5 separate regions of the Homo sapiens genome follow, and regions 1, 2, 4 and 5 are each linked to region 3. Evidence: promoter capture Hi-C in 16 types of primary human blood cells and fetal thymus (Javierre and others, 2016). All regions are on one chromosome and are shown on one strand. Each heading gives the region's core, a stretch centred on a gene start or on the middle of the fragment in contact. The rest is flanking DNA. Distances are from core to core; before and after follow the strand shown. Region 1 holds the start of MIR4519 (microRNA 4519). Region 2 overlaps ITGAD (integrin subunit alpha D). Region 3 holds the start of PRSS8 (serine protease 8). Region 4 has its middle 6.2 kb from the start of ARMC5. Region 5 overlaps SRCAP (Snf2 related CREBBP activator protein).

Region 1 (2,700 bases), core at 194-2,693, 260 kb before region 3:
TTAATTAAAGGGTAGCCAGGTGCGGTGGCTCATGCCTGTAATCCCAGCACTTTCAGAGGCCGAGGCAGGAGGATCGCTTGAGCCCAGGAGTTCCAGACCAGCCTGGACAACATAGCGAGATCCTGACTCTACAAAAAACAGAAAAATTAGCCGGGCGTGGTGGCGCGTGTTTGTAGTCCCAGACACTCCTGAGGTTGAGGTGGGAGGATCACCTGAGCCCTCGGGAGGTCGAAGCTGCAGTGAGCGGAGATCGCACCGCTGCACTCCAGCCTGGGGGACAGTGAGGCGGTCTCAAAACAAAACAAAAACAAAAGGGGAGGGCGGGGGGAAGACTTAAAGACCCCTGAGCCAGGGCCATTATTATTTAACTTGGTCGGGTCTCTGAACCATTCGGAGGAAGCTTGGGTTTCTATCCTTCCCGACTGAGCCACAGACCTGAGTCTTGACTCCGGATAAATCACCCCAGACTGTTTTTCTGTCTGTGACACGGGAACGGCAGCTTCTGCCTCGCGAGGTGGAGAGAGAATGAGAAGCGCCGTGTGTGGCGCGCCTGACACGGTCAGCTCGCGGGTGGAGGCCCGGAGCAGAACGCCCTCGGGCGCCCGCTCTTGCAGCCGCACTGGAGACCGGGAATGGCTCCGGCCACGCCTCTGCCGACTGCGGCAACGCGAGGGACAGCTGGTCTCCGGGGTTGCAGCGTAACGCCCTCCTTCCCGGCCTCATCTTTCCTGACTGCATAACGGGCATACAGTGGGTTCCATGGCGCAAGGGAGCTGAAGAAGCCGCCCGCCCCCAGCTCGCCCGGGATCCTCACGCCCCTATAACGCCCCGAGGGGCCACGATGCTGCCCACAGCCCAGATCGCGAGTGCGGACCCTGCGGGAGGGTCTGGCCTAGATGCGAGTTTCCCGCCGCAGACCAGGCGAGGCCACGCGACATATCCCCTACCCGCTTACTGCAGGCCGCAGACGGAGACAGTGCAGCCCTGCGCACTGCTGAGGTTGCCCGAGGTCTCAGCCTCGGCGGGTCGGGAACACGCGGCGCGCGCCCGCGCCCCAACCGGAAGTCCGCCACCGGCCGCTCTAGCACGCGCAGGGCTGCGTCTGTGGCCTTAACCCTTCCCAAGGCTGCGCCGCCGGCCTTTGTCTCCGCGGAGCGTCACAAAGGTTGGAAGGGTCGCGGGGCCTCTGGGTGCCGAGCTGCAGATGCCTCCACTGCGAGCACAGCCCTGAGACAAGGGCCCAGGCGCCCAGCGGGGCTGGTTTCACTCAGTCCAGCCGCACCTACCCGTGCCCTCACCAGATCTTAAGATACAGACATTAAAACCTCCACCGGGCCGCGGCACAGGACAGCAGTTTTACTTTCTGTTTTTGGCATTGCATTGCCTCCATTTCCTAGAGTGCACGTAATAAATACCGCTGGTGATTCCAAAATATAAAGGTTGAAAATATTTACTTTACAAAAATTTGGTTCCCATACTGCTTTTAAGGCCATCCTCTGCACTTGGTTCCCGCTGCTCCTGATGTGGTTGAAAGATGGATGACCCCAAAGACGAGGAAAAGATTATTGGCTCCATTTTTTAGATGCGGCAGCCAGCTAAGGTCTAGACAGGGGAAGGGACTTGCCCCAAATCACAGTTAGAGCAAATCAGTCTGAATCAGGAATAACTCCATTCCTATCCCGCATCCTGCCCTTTCACTACGCCACAGCTGCCTGGCTGCCTGGAGGAACAAAGGAGGGCCGGGCAAGAACGCCATTACCAACTGCAAATCCACAGGCAAATGCAAGAGGACAGAAAGTAAGTTCTTGGGCTCTGCCCTTGTGCCGTACCCGGAGGGGTTCTGGGGTCACCAGCCAGGTGCATCCCTGCCTTCACAGCCATGCACAGCGACACCCAGTTAACTAATGGGGGGGATTATGCCACTTGCTGGGTATGCCTGTGCCACCAGTGCACTCACTCTGTGCCTGGGGAAATAACCACGGATGAATCTGGGGATCCCCTGGGCCCACTGTGAAATGGACCTGAGCTAAAACTCCATTGATCACAGGACCTCAGGGATCTTTTGGGTCTCGAGAACAGAATTGGATGCTACAGGAGAAATGTAACCAGAAAAGGATTAGGATTTTGCCAGTAGAGAAAGGGAGATGTGCTTGCTTTCATTCATTTATCATTAATGAGCACCTACTGTATGCCAGGCACCACACTAGGCCCTAGGAAGACAGAGATTATGAGACAGATGTGGCCTTATTCTAGCAGGGGAAGTGAGATGAAGGAGGTGAGAAAGAGGAAGTATAGTGACTAACCAGGGACCTGACCTAGTTTGAAGGTCAGGGAACCTTGGAGGAGGTGAAATCAAACCCAAAGCCTGAGATAAGAGAGAGAAGGGGAGGGTGGAGGGAAGGAAAGGGCTTCACAGACAGAGGGAACGGGAGTGCTAACAGCCTGGCCAGCTTCCTTGTGGTAGAAGTTCTATGCATGAGTTGGAAGAAAGCTTGGGGAAAGGGGCAGGAGAGGTGGGCAGGGGCCAAATCCAGCAGGGGCTTTTCTACCATAAGGAACTTGGTGGGAGAACTCCATGGGCAAAAACAGGTGTGGAAGGGACCAAGAAGCCCATGTGGCTGGAGGGCAGGACATGAGATGAAGATGACTAGAGCAGGGAGTGAGGAGGTGGAGAAGGTGAGCAGAGGCCAAGGCTGGGAG
Region 2 (2,700 bases), core at 47-2,546, 260 kb after region 3:
TGTGTTTTGCAAGTAAAGAATGATGGCAGGGCTGGGCACCATGGCTCACGCCTATAATCCCAACGCTTTGGGAGGCTGAGGCGGGCAGATCATCTGAGGCCAGGAGTTTGAGACCAGTTTGGCCAACACAGCAAAACCCCATCTCTACTAAAAATGCAAAAAAAATTAGCCGGGCATGGTGGCAGGCATCTGTAATCCCAGCTACTTGGGAGGCTGAGGCAGGAGAATCGCTTGAACCTGGGAGGTGGAGGTTGCAGTGAGCCGAGATCGTGCCACTTTACTCCAGCCTAGGTGACAGAGTGAGACTCCGTCAAAAAAAAAAAGTCATGGGAGAAGGGAGATGCACTGGGGGTTTGGAGCCTTAGCTCAGCAGCAGCCCCACCTCCCACCGCCTCCTGAAGGGTGGTGAAGGGGTATCAGCTGCTGGCTCCCCCACCCATGTGGGAGCAATGACCGCTGCTACCTTCCGCCCCTGGCATGAGCTGGGTAAAGTCAGTTAGGGGCGCTCACTCTGGGAGTACCCCGAGGGAGTGGGACACTACATAGCAAATAAAAAACGTCAGGACAGGTTGAGGAAGAGAGCAGAAGAAAGGTAAGAGCCCCCCAACCCCAAGAGACCCCACAGTTTTATTTCAAATTGGGACCCACAAATTATGAACCTGCCCCCACTTCCAGGAGCTCACATTCTCCTGTCCCAGAGAGTTCAAGTCACAATGTGACACAGGTGTCACCAAGGTCTGGGGGGCGCAGGCAGGGAGAGAGCAGACCCAGGAGGGTTCCATGGAGGAAGTGGTGCTGGCAGTGAGCCCCAGTGGACAGGAAGGCTCAGTTGGTCACGAGGAGCTATAAGAGGTCACCGAGCTCCAACCGCGCACCCCTCTCCCTTCCTCATGTGACTGGCAGTCTGGGGGGATGGAAGCAAGCACCAGGCACCAGGCTTTTGTTTTTCTTTATTTGGAAATGTGGTCAACTGAGGTGCACAAATCTGAAAGACCCAATCTGATAAAGGATACACATGTGCGTGCCTGGGTGAGCCCCACCTAGGTCAGCTGCTCCAGTGTCAAATCCCACAGGCACAGGGCTGCCGTGGACCCCTTCTCATCACCCAACATCCCCAGAGAACCCCTGGTCAGACTTCTGTCACCATCAGTTTTTTGGGCCACATTTTAAAAAAAGAATACATTGGCTGAGTGCAGTGGCTCATGCCTATAATCCTAGAACTTTGGGAGGCTGAGGCGGGTGGATCACCTAAGGTCAAGAGTTCAAGACCAGCCTGACCAATATGGTGAAACCCTGTCTCTACTAAAAAATACAAAAATTAGCCTGGCGTGATGGCAGGTGCCTGTAATCCCAGCTAGCTGGGTGACTGAAATAGGAGATTTGCTTGAACCTGGGAGGTGGAGGTTGCAGTGAGCTGAGATCACGCCATTGCACTCCAACCTGGGTGACAGAGTGAAACTCTGTCTCAAAAAACATATGGGTTGATGGGTTACACTAAAGTTTTGCTCATCGTTTGTATCAGCAGGTTCCAAACTGCTACCTCTCTAGCCAATGCTCAGATTTTCTTCACAAAGCCTTAGGCATCCCCTGAATCATGATGCACAGGGATTGTAGCTTTCTGTAAAGGAGCGGCACCTAGAAGGAACCCTCACATGGCCATTTAATGAAGCCTTGCTTGGCGCATTAAAATACACCAGTATCTGTCTGCTTTTCTCACAGACAGGAGATTGTGGGTAGTGAGAAAACATTTCCAAAATTAAAAAACTTTCCCACTCAGGGAGTTTTGCAAATAAACCCTTGACTCTACATAACTATAGATATAGTTATGGATCCTAGTACACTGCTTTACATTGGCCAATTGAAATTGCTTATACAATATTTAAATTGGTCCAATGAATTACAGAATCAACTATTTGTTTTGAAAGCACATGTCTTCAGGAAATTGTTCCAATTAACTTGAGATGATCTTATTTCTTGGGTGGTTCAAAATAATGGCAACTCAGAAACGCAATGTGCTTACCCATGATTGGGAAATGCCATTTTGGTCTTTAAATAGGTTTTTTTTTTTTTTTTTTTTTTTTTTTTTGGTGAATGTTAAAAAGAAATTTCTAAACATAAATACACACATACGTACTTATGCACACTCAAAACCAAATAAACCCCAGCATGGCCCCTGGGCATCTGTGAGTTACACTTGGGCCCTGATTTCTGAATATTCTGCCAAGTGGCAAATGCCAGGAATTTCCCCCACAGAGTCTCGCTTCCCCATGGAGGGACACTTCCTCACCCCCAAGTGCCCGCTGCTCCCACCCCTCCTGTGGCTGCAGTGACATGGCCATGGTTGTGTCTCCAGACTCGTGGTGGGAGCACCCCTGGAGGTGGTGGCGGCCAACCAGACGGGACGGCTGTATGACTGCGCAGCTGCCACCGGCATGTGCCAGCCCATCCCGCTGCACAGTGAGTGACCACCTGGGAATTGGGCCCCTCAACCCTCCTGGACCCAACTGTGCCCCCGCTTAGCTTCCAGTCCAGACCTTCCCCGCAAATGAGTGTGTGCTGTGAGTGAGACCCCGCGTGTCTGCCCTTGCAGTCCGCCCTGAGGCCGTGAACATGTCCTTGGGCCTGACCCTGGCAGCCTCCACCAACGGCTCCCGGCTCCTGGTGAGTGAGTGTCTTGGGCCACGGGGGGGTGGGGTGGGG
Region 3 (2,700 bases), core at 142-2,641:
CTCATCTCCCTGCATCCTCTCCACAGCCCCAGGAGACGGACATGACCAGCTTCATTTTAGAGGTGAGGAGTCTAAGGCTTAGAGAAGTGGGGGGACTTGGCCAATGACACACAGCCAGTGCATGGGGAAGCCAGGATTGAAAGCCGGTCTGACTCAGAGCTGGGTTGGGTGCCTTCCAAGAAAGGAGACCCTTGGTTTGGTTCCCTCAAAACCACCTCCAGGATGGGAACGGTGGCTCACACCTGTAATCCCAGCACTTTGAGAGGCCAAGGCAGGAGGATCGCTTGAGCCCAGGAGTTCAAGACCTGCCCGGCCAACATAGTGAGACCCACATCTCTACCAAACAAAAACAAAAACAAAAACAAAACACAACTAGCTGGGTGTGATGGCATGCACCTGTAGTCCCAGCCACTAGGGAGGCTGAGGTGGGGAGGTGGGAGGATCACGTGAGCCCGGGAGGCTGGATCACTGAGACTGCAGTGAGCTGCGATCGGGCCACTGCACTCCAGCCTGGGTGACGACAGACCCAGACCCTGTTTCAAAAGACAAAAACCAAACCAAAAAAACCACCTCGATTGCCCCACTTTGGGAGTCAGACGTGGATCTGAATCCCAGCTGCACCTTCACTGGCAGTGTGCCCTGGGCAAGTCCCTGCTTCTCTGCCCATAAGGTGAGGGCTAAAACCCCCCACTCTGGGAGCCCTAAGAGAATCTAGTTGGAAGGCAGCCCAGCTGAAGGCCAGGCACTGGTTAAACCCCAGGGGAATCCGATCCAAGTCACCTCCCCCTCCCCTCCTCCCTCTCCGAGGAAAGTCTCACCTTCTGCCCCTTCCGCTCCTAGAAAGAAAGAGAAAGAGGAGGGGTGAGTAGGGAAGACTCGGGTTCCCTGACCCCTTAGTACCCACCACTGCTCCAGAGGGCTGGCCCCTTCCCTGACAGAGCCAAGGTGGGAAAGAGAGGCCAAGAGCTAGGGAGGCCGGGGGTTTTCTTGGGCCCCAGACAAGGGCACACCCCAGAAAATGATCACGCCGGCTCCCTCCAGTGCATTGTCCCCACCCTGCCCCCACGTCCTCACTTACCTGTCCCCGACCGGAGTAATCCAAGATAGAGCAGAATGGCCACAGCCCCCAGCTGCCCAGGCCCCAGGACCCCCTTCTGGGCCATGGCCCAGGACAAGGGCCCCTGGGGCAGACTCCAGGCACGCAAGGTAGGAAGCCTTGGGGTGGTGTCGAAGGCAGGACCCAGATGTTGGCTCAGAGGGAAGGATCCCAGAATCCGGGCTGGAAAGGGGCAGCAAGTGTCCAAGGCTGGCCTCTAAGGCAGGGAGCGGCCGCAACGGGAGACGCCTGGAGTATCCGAAGCGAGCAGTGTGGACGAGTCACCAGCACCGTCTGGCCACGCAGGGTCCTCCCAGGAGTGGCTGCACCTACCTGCCCGCCCCTCCCCTGGCCCCGCCCACTGGCTGGGCTCCGCCAGCTCCTCTTGCCACCAAAGTCATGAGTCCTTTCAGAGCTGCAGGCCCGTGTGTGTGCATGTATGTGTCCGTGTGTATGTGTGTGCACATGCATAGGCCTTTTGTGTGTGTGTCCCGGTGTGTAGTGTGTATGTGGTGTGTGTGTATGCCTGTGTAGGCTGTGTGTGTCCTCTTATGTGGTGTGGTATGTGTGTGTGTGTGCATGTACAGGCTGTATGTGCACATGTGTAGGCTGTGTGTGTCCCTGTGTGTGTAGTGTGTGTGTCTGAGTGTGCGTGCATGCACGTGCATGTGGTTTGTGTGTGTGTGCAGTCTCCCTGGAATGTGACGACTCTCCTCCGCCTCAGGTCTTTCAGGTTATCTCAGGCCAGTTATGCCCCCCAGGGCCTGGCCCCAGCTTTTATTATCTGGAGCCACAGCCACTCCTCCCTTCTTCCCTCCCTCCTTAGGCTGGTTATGGGAGCTTAAGACACTATGGTCTGTCCCCTGCCAGGCCCTTTCTGCGATGCCTGCACCTCATGGGTGGTGGCGAGCTTGTGGAGCAGCACCAATCATCCCACAGACATTTCCTAAGTGCCTATGATGTTCCCAGGTGTCCAGGACAAAACAGGCACCAGCCCCGTCCCCCTTGAGCCCTGAGCTCATGGTGAAGTAGGGGTGACACACTTCAATCAAATAATCACAAACAGGCTGGCAAGGTGGCTAGTCGGCTTTGGGAGGCTGAGGCTGGAGCATCACTTGAAGCCAGGAGTTCCAGACCAGCCTGGGGAATATAGCGAGGCCTCATCTCTACAAAGAAATATAAAAATTAGGCAGGCATTGTGGCGCATGCCTATGGTTCCAGCTATTTGGGAGGCTGAGGCAGGAGGATTGCTTGAGCCCAGGAGTTCAACGAAGCATTGAGCTATGATCACGCCACTGCACTCCAGCCTGGGCAACAGAGGGAGACCCTGTCTTAAAAAAAAAAATTGCAATTACACAATAATTTCAAGCTAGGAATAGTGATGAAAAAGAATGGCGTGAGCACACCACAGCCTGGCAAAGGCTGGCATTGTGAAAGGGTCCTCGAGGAATTGCCTTGGAAACTGAGACCGAAAGGGATTATAAAAGGTGGTAAGGCGAAGATGGGGGGATGGGGTGCAGAGGGCAGAGGCTCAGGGAAAGAAGGCTTGCCGTGTGGCTGCGGTGGGAGTGAGGCATGTATCCTCCTTGAGGGCCACTCTGGCC
Region 4 (2,700 bases), core at 99-2,598, 320 kb after region 3:
CTGCCTGCCCCTAGAGGCTGTAAGACAGCATTGTTCAGGAAAGGGAGGAAAGGGAATGGGTGTAGGAAAGGAAGAGCGGATCTCCTTTGAAGAATTATCTTTAAAAAAAATTATTTTTTTAGAGACAGGGTCTCACTCTGTTGCCCAGGCTGGGGTGCAGTGGCACAATCCTAGCTCACTGCAGTCTCAAATTCCTGGGCTCAAGCGGTCCTCCTGCCTCAGCCTCCTGAATAGCTGGGACTACAGTGAACATCACCACACCTGGCTGGTTTTTTAATTTTTTCTAGAGATGGGGTTTGCTATGTTGCCCAGGCTAGTCTCGAACTCCTGGGCTCAAAGCATCCTCTCACCTCAGCCTCTCAAAGTGCTGGGATTATAGGTGTGAGCCACCGCCTTTTTTTTTTTTTCTGATTTACTATAATATTTCTAGTAAGCCATTGGCTTAGAAACCAGATTCACTAATTAATTCATTTACCCTTTCATGATACAAAATTTTTTAACTGAGTGAGGCCTTTCCTGAGAATTGAGCACATGAGCTTTGGTGCATGGACCTGGAAATCTCTGCTTCTTGAACTCCTAGGGGCTTCCTTTACTTCATTCACTCCTGGTGCTCAGCAAATTTCTGAATGGGGGAGGTTGGCCAGCCTGGGAGAGGTCACCCACGCCAGGAAGTCTCAGTACCTCTCTATTTATCCTATCACTTGGGAATCCTCTAGGATCTGTTTCAGGGAGTCTCTGGTTAGCCCTGAGACATAAGTGGTGCGGGTGAGACTCCTGGGGCCTATCTCAGAGGTCCTCACACCCCTGAGATTAAATCAGTCAGGAGGCAGGGTGGAGAGAGGAGTGTCCTATCAGGTCTGAGGAGGTTGTCAACTTCCTGGACTTCTTGCTAAGGACTCCTCTTCCCACCCTTCATGGGTAGCTGAGGTCAGGGAATCTGTAGGGACAAGACTTTCTTTTAAATGCTAATCTGCTGACTAACCCTGAGTCTGGGAATGCCTCCAAAATGTCAAGCTGATGTGTTTTTTTATTTTTTGGTTTTGTTTTTTTTGTTTTTTTTTTGAAACGGAGTCTCACTCTTTCATCCAAACTGGGGTGCAGTGGCACGATCTTGGCTCACTGAAACCTCCACCTCCTGGGTTCAAGCAATTTTCCTGCCTCAACCTCCCAAGTAGCTGGGATTACAGGCACGTGCCACCATGCCTGGCTAATTTTTATATTTTTGGTAGAGACAGGGTTTCACCACGTTGGGCAGCCTGGTCTCGAACTCCTGACCTCAGGTGATCTGCCCACCTCGGCCTCCCAAAGCGCTGGGAATACAGGCGTGAGCCACCGTACCAAGACATCCCACAGCACCAGCCTGTGTGTGTCTCGCCAGGCTCAGAGCTGGGAACCTGGAACCCAGGACTGGGTGAGCTCAGAGACATAACTGTGACTGTACTGGAGTCAGTCTTATGCCCAGAGCTAAGCAGAAGCAGGGCCAGCCCAGAGGAGACGATGTTACCGACTCCCACCCCGTCCTGTCTAGCGCTTAGAGTACCTCTGTACTGGCTTGCTTCCTACAGTTGCTCTGGGAGGAATGTGTGCCAGAGACCCTGACCTCTGACCCAGGCATGCAAGGGTCTGCCTTGCCTAGTTGAGCCTGTGCACTCTGTCTCTGCCTCCCTTCAGATAGGGAAAGGAGCTTCAAATTACGGGGTGATGTCATAGCACGGAGTGGAGATGGGGTGGCAGGGAGACAGGGAGGCTCAGGGAAGGAGGCCAGGTATTTCACAGAGGAGTTCTGGGGGAGAAGAAGGAAAACGGCAGAGAAGGGAACAGGAAGGGGTGAAGGAAAGGGGAAAAGTGCCTTCACTGCATGGAAAGGTCCTTCTCACCCACAGTGGGGTGGGATGGAGACTGTAACCTCAAGTACTTTTCTGCAGGGGACAGGCAAGTAACACATATGAAACGTGCTGAGTCAGGGATGCAAGAGGGAGTGTCCCTGTTCCTATGTCCAGGACAGCCACTACTCAACGAACTGCTGCCATAAAAATCCAATGTTGCAGCATCTTCTGATATAAATAATAAAGCAGGCCGGGTGTGGTGACTGACGCCTGTAATCCTACCACTTTCGGAAGCCGAGGTGGGTGGGGGAGGGAAGGGCCGGGGCAGGGGATCTTTTCTTTTTTTTTTTGAAACGGAGTCTTGCTCTGTCACCCAGGCTGGATTGCAGTGACAGGATCTCCGCCCACTGCAAGCTCTGCCTCCTGGGTTCATGCCATTCTCTTGCCTCAGCCTCTTGAGTAGCTGGAACTATAGGCGCCTGCCACCATTTCCAGCTAATTTTTTGTATTTTTAGTAGAGACAGGATTTCACCTTGTTAGCCAGGAAGGTCTCGATCTCCTGACCTCGTGATCCGCCCACCTAGGCCTCCCAAAGTGCTGGGATTACAGGCGTGAGCCACCGTGCCCGGCCAGGAGGGGATCATTTGAGCCTAGGAGTTCAAGACCAGTCTGCAACCTGGCAAGATCCTGTCTCAATTAAAAAAAAAAAAAAACAAAAAAAACAACAACAAACCAAGCCCCAGAAATCGACTGTGATGTGAAATCTCCTTATTTAAATGTTGGCTCTTTAAAAAAATAAAAAGACCAGGTTAGGTGGCTCACATCTGTAATCCCAGCATTTTGGGAGGCTGAGACCAGAGGAACACTTGAACTC
Region 5 (2,700 bases), core at 71-2,570, 410 kb before region 3:
GGAGTCATAATGTATAATGTGTGGTCCATTGTGACTGGCATCTTCTACTTAGATTAATGTTCTTTGAATTTTATTGTGTTATAGCGTATATCAGTACTTCATTTGTTTTTATGTTGAATAATAATGTATGAATACCACATTTTATCCTTGAGTTGATGGAAACGTGTGTTACTTCTGCTTTATGGTTGTTATGAACAATGCTGCTGTGAACATTTCATGTACAAGTTTTTGTATGGACAGGTGTTCTCAGTTTCTGTTAGATACATACTGAGGAGAAGAATTGCTGGGTTATATTGTAACTAGGTTTTAACTGTTTAAGGAACTGCCAGACTTTTCCAAAGTGGCTGCAGCATTTGACATTACCACCAGCAGTCTGTGAGGATTCCAGTTTCTCCACATTTGAGCCAATACTTTTTTTTTTTTTTTTGAGAAGGAGTCTTGCTCTGTTACCCAGGCTGGAGTGCTTTGGCACGGTCTTGGCTCACTGCAACCTCTGTCTCCTGGGTTTAAGTGACCCCACCTCAACCTCCCTCGTAGCTGGGATTACAGGCATGTGGCACCATGCCTACCTAATTTTTTTGTATTCTTATTATTTTATTTTATTTTTGAGACAGAATCTTGCTCTGTTGCCCAGGCTGGAGTAAAGTGGCACCATCCCGGCTCACTGCAACCTCCACTTCCCAGGCTCAAACGATTTTCCTGTGTCATCTTCCCGAGTGGCTGGGACTACAGGCATGGCGTCACCACGCCTGGCTAATTTTTTTATTTTTAGTAGAGATGGGGTTTCACCATGTTGGCCGGGCTGGTCTCGAACTCCTGACCTCAGGTGATCCGCCTGCCTTGGCCTCCCAAAGTGCTGGGATTATAGACATGAGCCACTGCACCTGGCCAGATTTTTTTGTATTTTTAGTAGAGATGGGGTTTACCATGTTTGCCACGCTGGTTTCGAATTCCACACCTCAAGTGATCTGCCCGCCTCAGCCTCCCAAAGTGCTAGGATTACAGGTGTGAGCCACCATGCCTGGCACATCATCACTTTGATTATAGCCATCCTGCTGGGTGTGAAGTAGTAGTTCATTGTGATTTTGATTTGAATTTCCCTGTTGGCTAATGTTGAGCTTTATTTCATGTGGTTGAAATACCATGCTGGCCATTTGTGTATCTTTGAAGAACTATCTGTTCAGATCCTCTGCCCTTTTAAAATGGGTTGTCTTTTTATTATTGAGTTGTAAGAGTTCTTTATATATTCTGATTACAGATCCTTTTTCAGACGTATGGTTTACAAATAGTCTTTTTTTTGAGACAGTGTCTCACTTTGTCAATCAGGCTAGAGTGCAGTGGCACAGTCTCCGCTCATTGCAGCCTCCTGGGCTTAAGTGAACCTCCCATCTCAGCCCTCCAAGTAGCTGGGACTGTAGGCTTGTGCCACCATGCCAGGCTACTTGTTTGTTTCTTTTTTTGAGATGGAGACTCACTCTGTCACCAGGCTGCAGTGCAGTGGTGCGATCTCAGCTCACTGCAACCTCCGCCTCCCAGGTTCAAGCGATTCTCCTGCTCAGCCTCCCAAGTAGCTGGGACTACAGGCTTGCACCACCACGCCCAGCTAACTTTTTTGTAATTTTAGTAGAGATAGGGTTTCATCATGTTGGCCAGGATGGTCTTGATATCTTGAGCTCATGATCTGCCCGCCTCGGCCTCCCAAAGTGCTGGGATTACAGGTGTGAGCCACCGCGCCTGGCCCTTGTTTGTATTTTTTGTAGAGATGCGGTTTTGCCATGTTGCCCAAACTGGTCTTGAATAGGAGGCTCAAACCATCCACCTAGGCCTCCCAAAGTGCTGGGATTATAGGCTTGAGCCACTGCTCCTGGCCAGATTTTCTCTTTTTGCTACTATTGGGAGCTAGCCTCAAAAGGAACTAGCTCTTTGAGTTTATTGGTTTTTCCGTCTGCTAGGACACCTTTTTTCCCTCACATAGAGCACTTCAAGCCAAGAGGTGAAACTTGGTAGCAGTCAGGAAGGAGATTTGGAACACTCCTCTTTTCACAACTATCTCTTGGGGTCTAGTCTCCCTCATTTGTTCATTTTGTTAACAGATAAATGTATTGAGAGCTTAATTGTGCTAGTTACTGAGTGATTATAGTGAGCAAGGCACAGTTCATGTTGTATGGGGCCTACCGTGTAGTGGATAGATATTAGTTAAATAATCATACAGATGTGTAACTACAAGCATAATAAGTGATACAAAGAAGTTTTTCAGACTGTGAAACTGGAAGCACAAAGATGGGAAAGGATTGGGTCAAAGTCATCCAGGTGTCCTCACTGCCGGGTTGCCCATTTTCTGTCTCAGAGTGATGAGACTCGGATGTCCGGTTAGCTGTTCCCATTCCACCCCATTCCAGTCTGGCCCTTGGCAAAAACCTGGTCTGGATTTGATTGGCGCCTCTGTATCCTGGTCAGTGATTTGAAGAAGGCTATAGTCCTGGAGTTGAGTGTTACGTAGGAAAATACCCACAAATCGTCCATTCTATAAACTTGTTGGAATTGTAGATCTTAATTTTGAATATTCAGTCATTCTGCTTTGGTAGCATACAAGGAAAGATCAGTTTTCTCTAGGAGAGAAGTTACTTAACATAACTTCTGAGAAAGAATAGTTATTTAACATAAAAAAGAAAGTTATTTAACATAACTTCTGAGAAAGAA

Evidence for each region. The method cuts DNA at HindIII sites, captures the fragments that hold promoters and counts their contacts. A CHiCAGO score of 5 or more calls a contact.
Region 1: a fragment that was not itself captured here is called in contact with the fragment with the promoter of PRSS8 in region 3 in 1 of 17 cell types (monocytes); the score reaches 5.1 in monocytes.
Region 2: a contact is called between a fragment that was not itself captured here and the fragment with the promoter of PRSS8 in region 3, in 5 of 17 cell types (monocytes, neutrophils, M0 macrophages and 2 more). The highest score is 8.3, in monocytes.
Region 4: a fragment that was not itself captured here is called in contact with the fragment with the promoter of PRSS8 in region 3 in 14 of 17 cell types (M0 macrophages, total CD8 T cells, naive CD8 T cells and 11 more); the score reaches 11.1 in M0 macrophages.
Region 5: a fragment that was not itself captured here is called in contact with the fragment with the promoter of PRSS8 in region 3 in 1 of 17 cell types (monocytes); the score reaches 5.0 in monocytes.

The regions. Positions count from the first base shown.
Region 1 is chr16:30,874,322-30,877,021 of GRCh38, forward strand. MIR4519 (microRNA 4519) reads right to left here and starts at 1,002; the gene lies at 945-1,002. MIR762HG (MIR762 host gene) reads left to right here and starts at 1,139. Exons shown (of 3, transcript NR_110942.1): 1 at 1,139-1,165; 2 at 1,709-1,797. It also overlaps a transcript of BCL7C not described here. RefSeq lists enhancers at 1-422, 423-1,177, 712-971, 1,178-1,932, 1,242-1,451 and 1 more and a silencer at 1,852-1,911. The HindIII fragment of the contact is 2,091 bases long and covers 399-2,489 here.
Region 2 is chr16:31,395,006-31,397,705 of GRCh38, forward strand. It overlaps ITGAD (integrin subunit alpha D), which reads left to right. Exons shown (of 30, transcript NM_005353.3): 3 at 2,354-2,457; 4 at 2,591-2,661. Among named protein-coding and RNA genes, the nearest start is that of ITGAD, 3.0 kb to the left of the region's middle. The HindIII fragment of the contact is 5,767 bases long and covers 1-2,700 here.
Region 3 is chr16:31,134,336-31,137,035 of GRCh38, forward strand. PRSS8 (serine protease 8) reads right to left here and starts at 1,392. Exons shown (of 6, transcript NM_002773.5): 1 at 1,079-1,392; 2 at 819-836. The coding sequence starts at 1,163. RefSeq lists an enhancer at 1-453. The HindIII fragment of the contact is 17,481 bases long and covers 1-2,700 here.
Region 4 is chr16:31,451,951-31,454,650 of GRCh38, forward strand. No RefSeq gene overlaps it. Among named protein-coding and RNA genes, the nearest start is that of ARMC5, 6.2 kb to the right of the region's middle. RefSeq lists enhancers at 1-152, 733-1,505, 1,506-2,277. The HindIII fragment of the contact is 3,667 bases long and covers 1-2,700 here.
Region 5 is chr16:30,726,112-30,728,811 of GRCh38, forward strand. The region is part of intron 25 of SRCAP (Snf2 related CREBBP activator protein); the gene reads left to right. Among named protein-coding and RNA genes, the nearest start is that of TMEM265, 13 kb to the right of the region's middle. The HindIII fragment of the contact is 4,495 bases long and covers 1-2,700 here.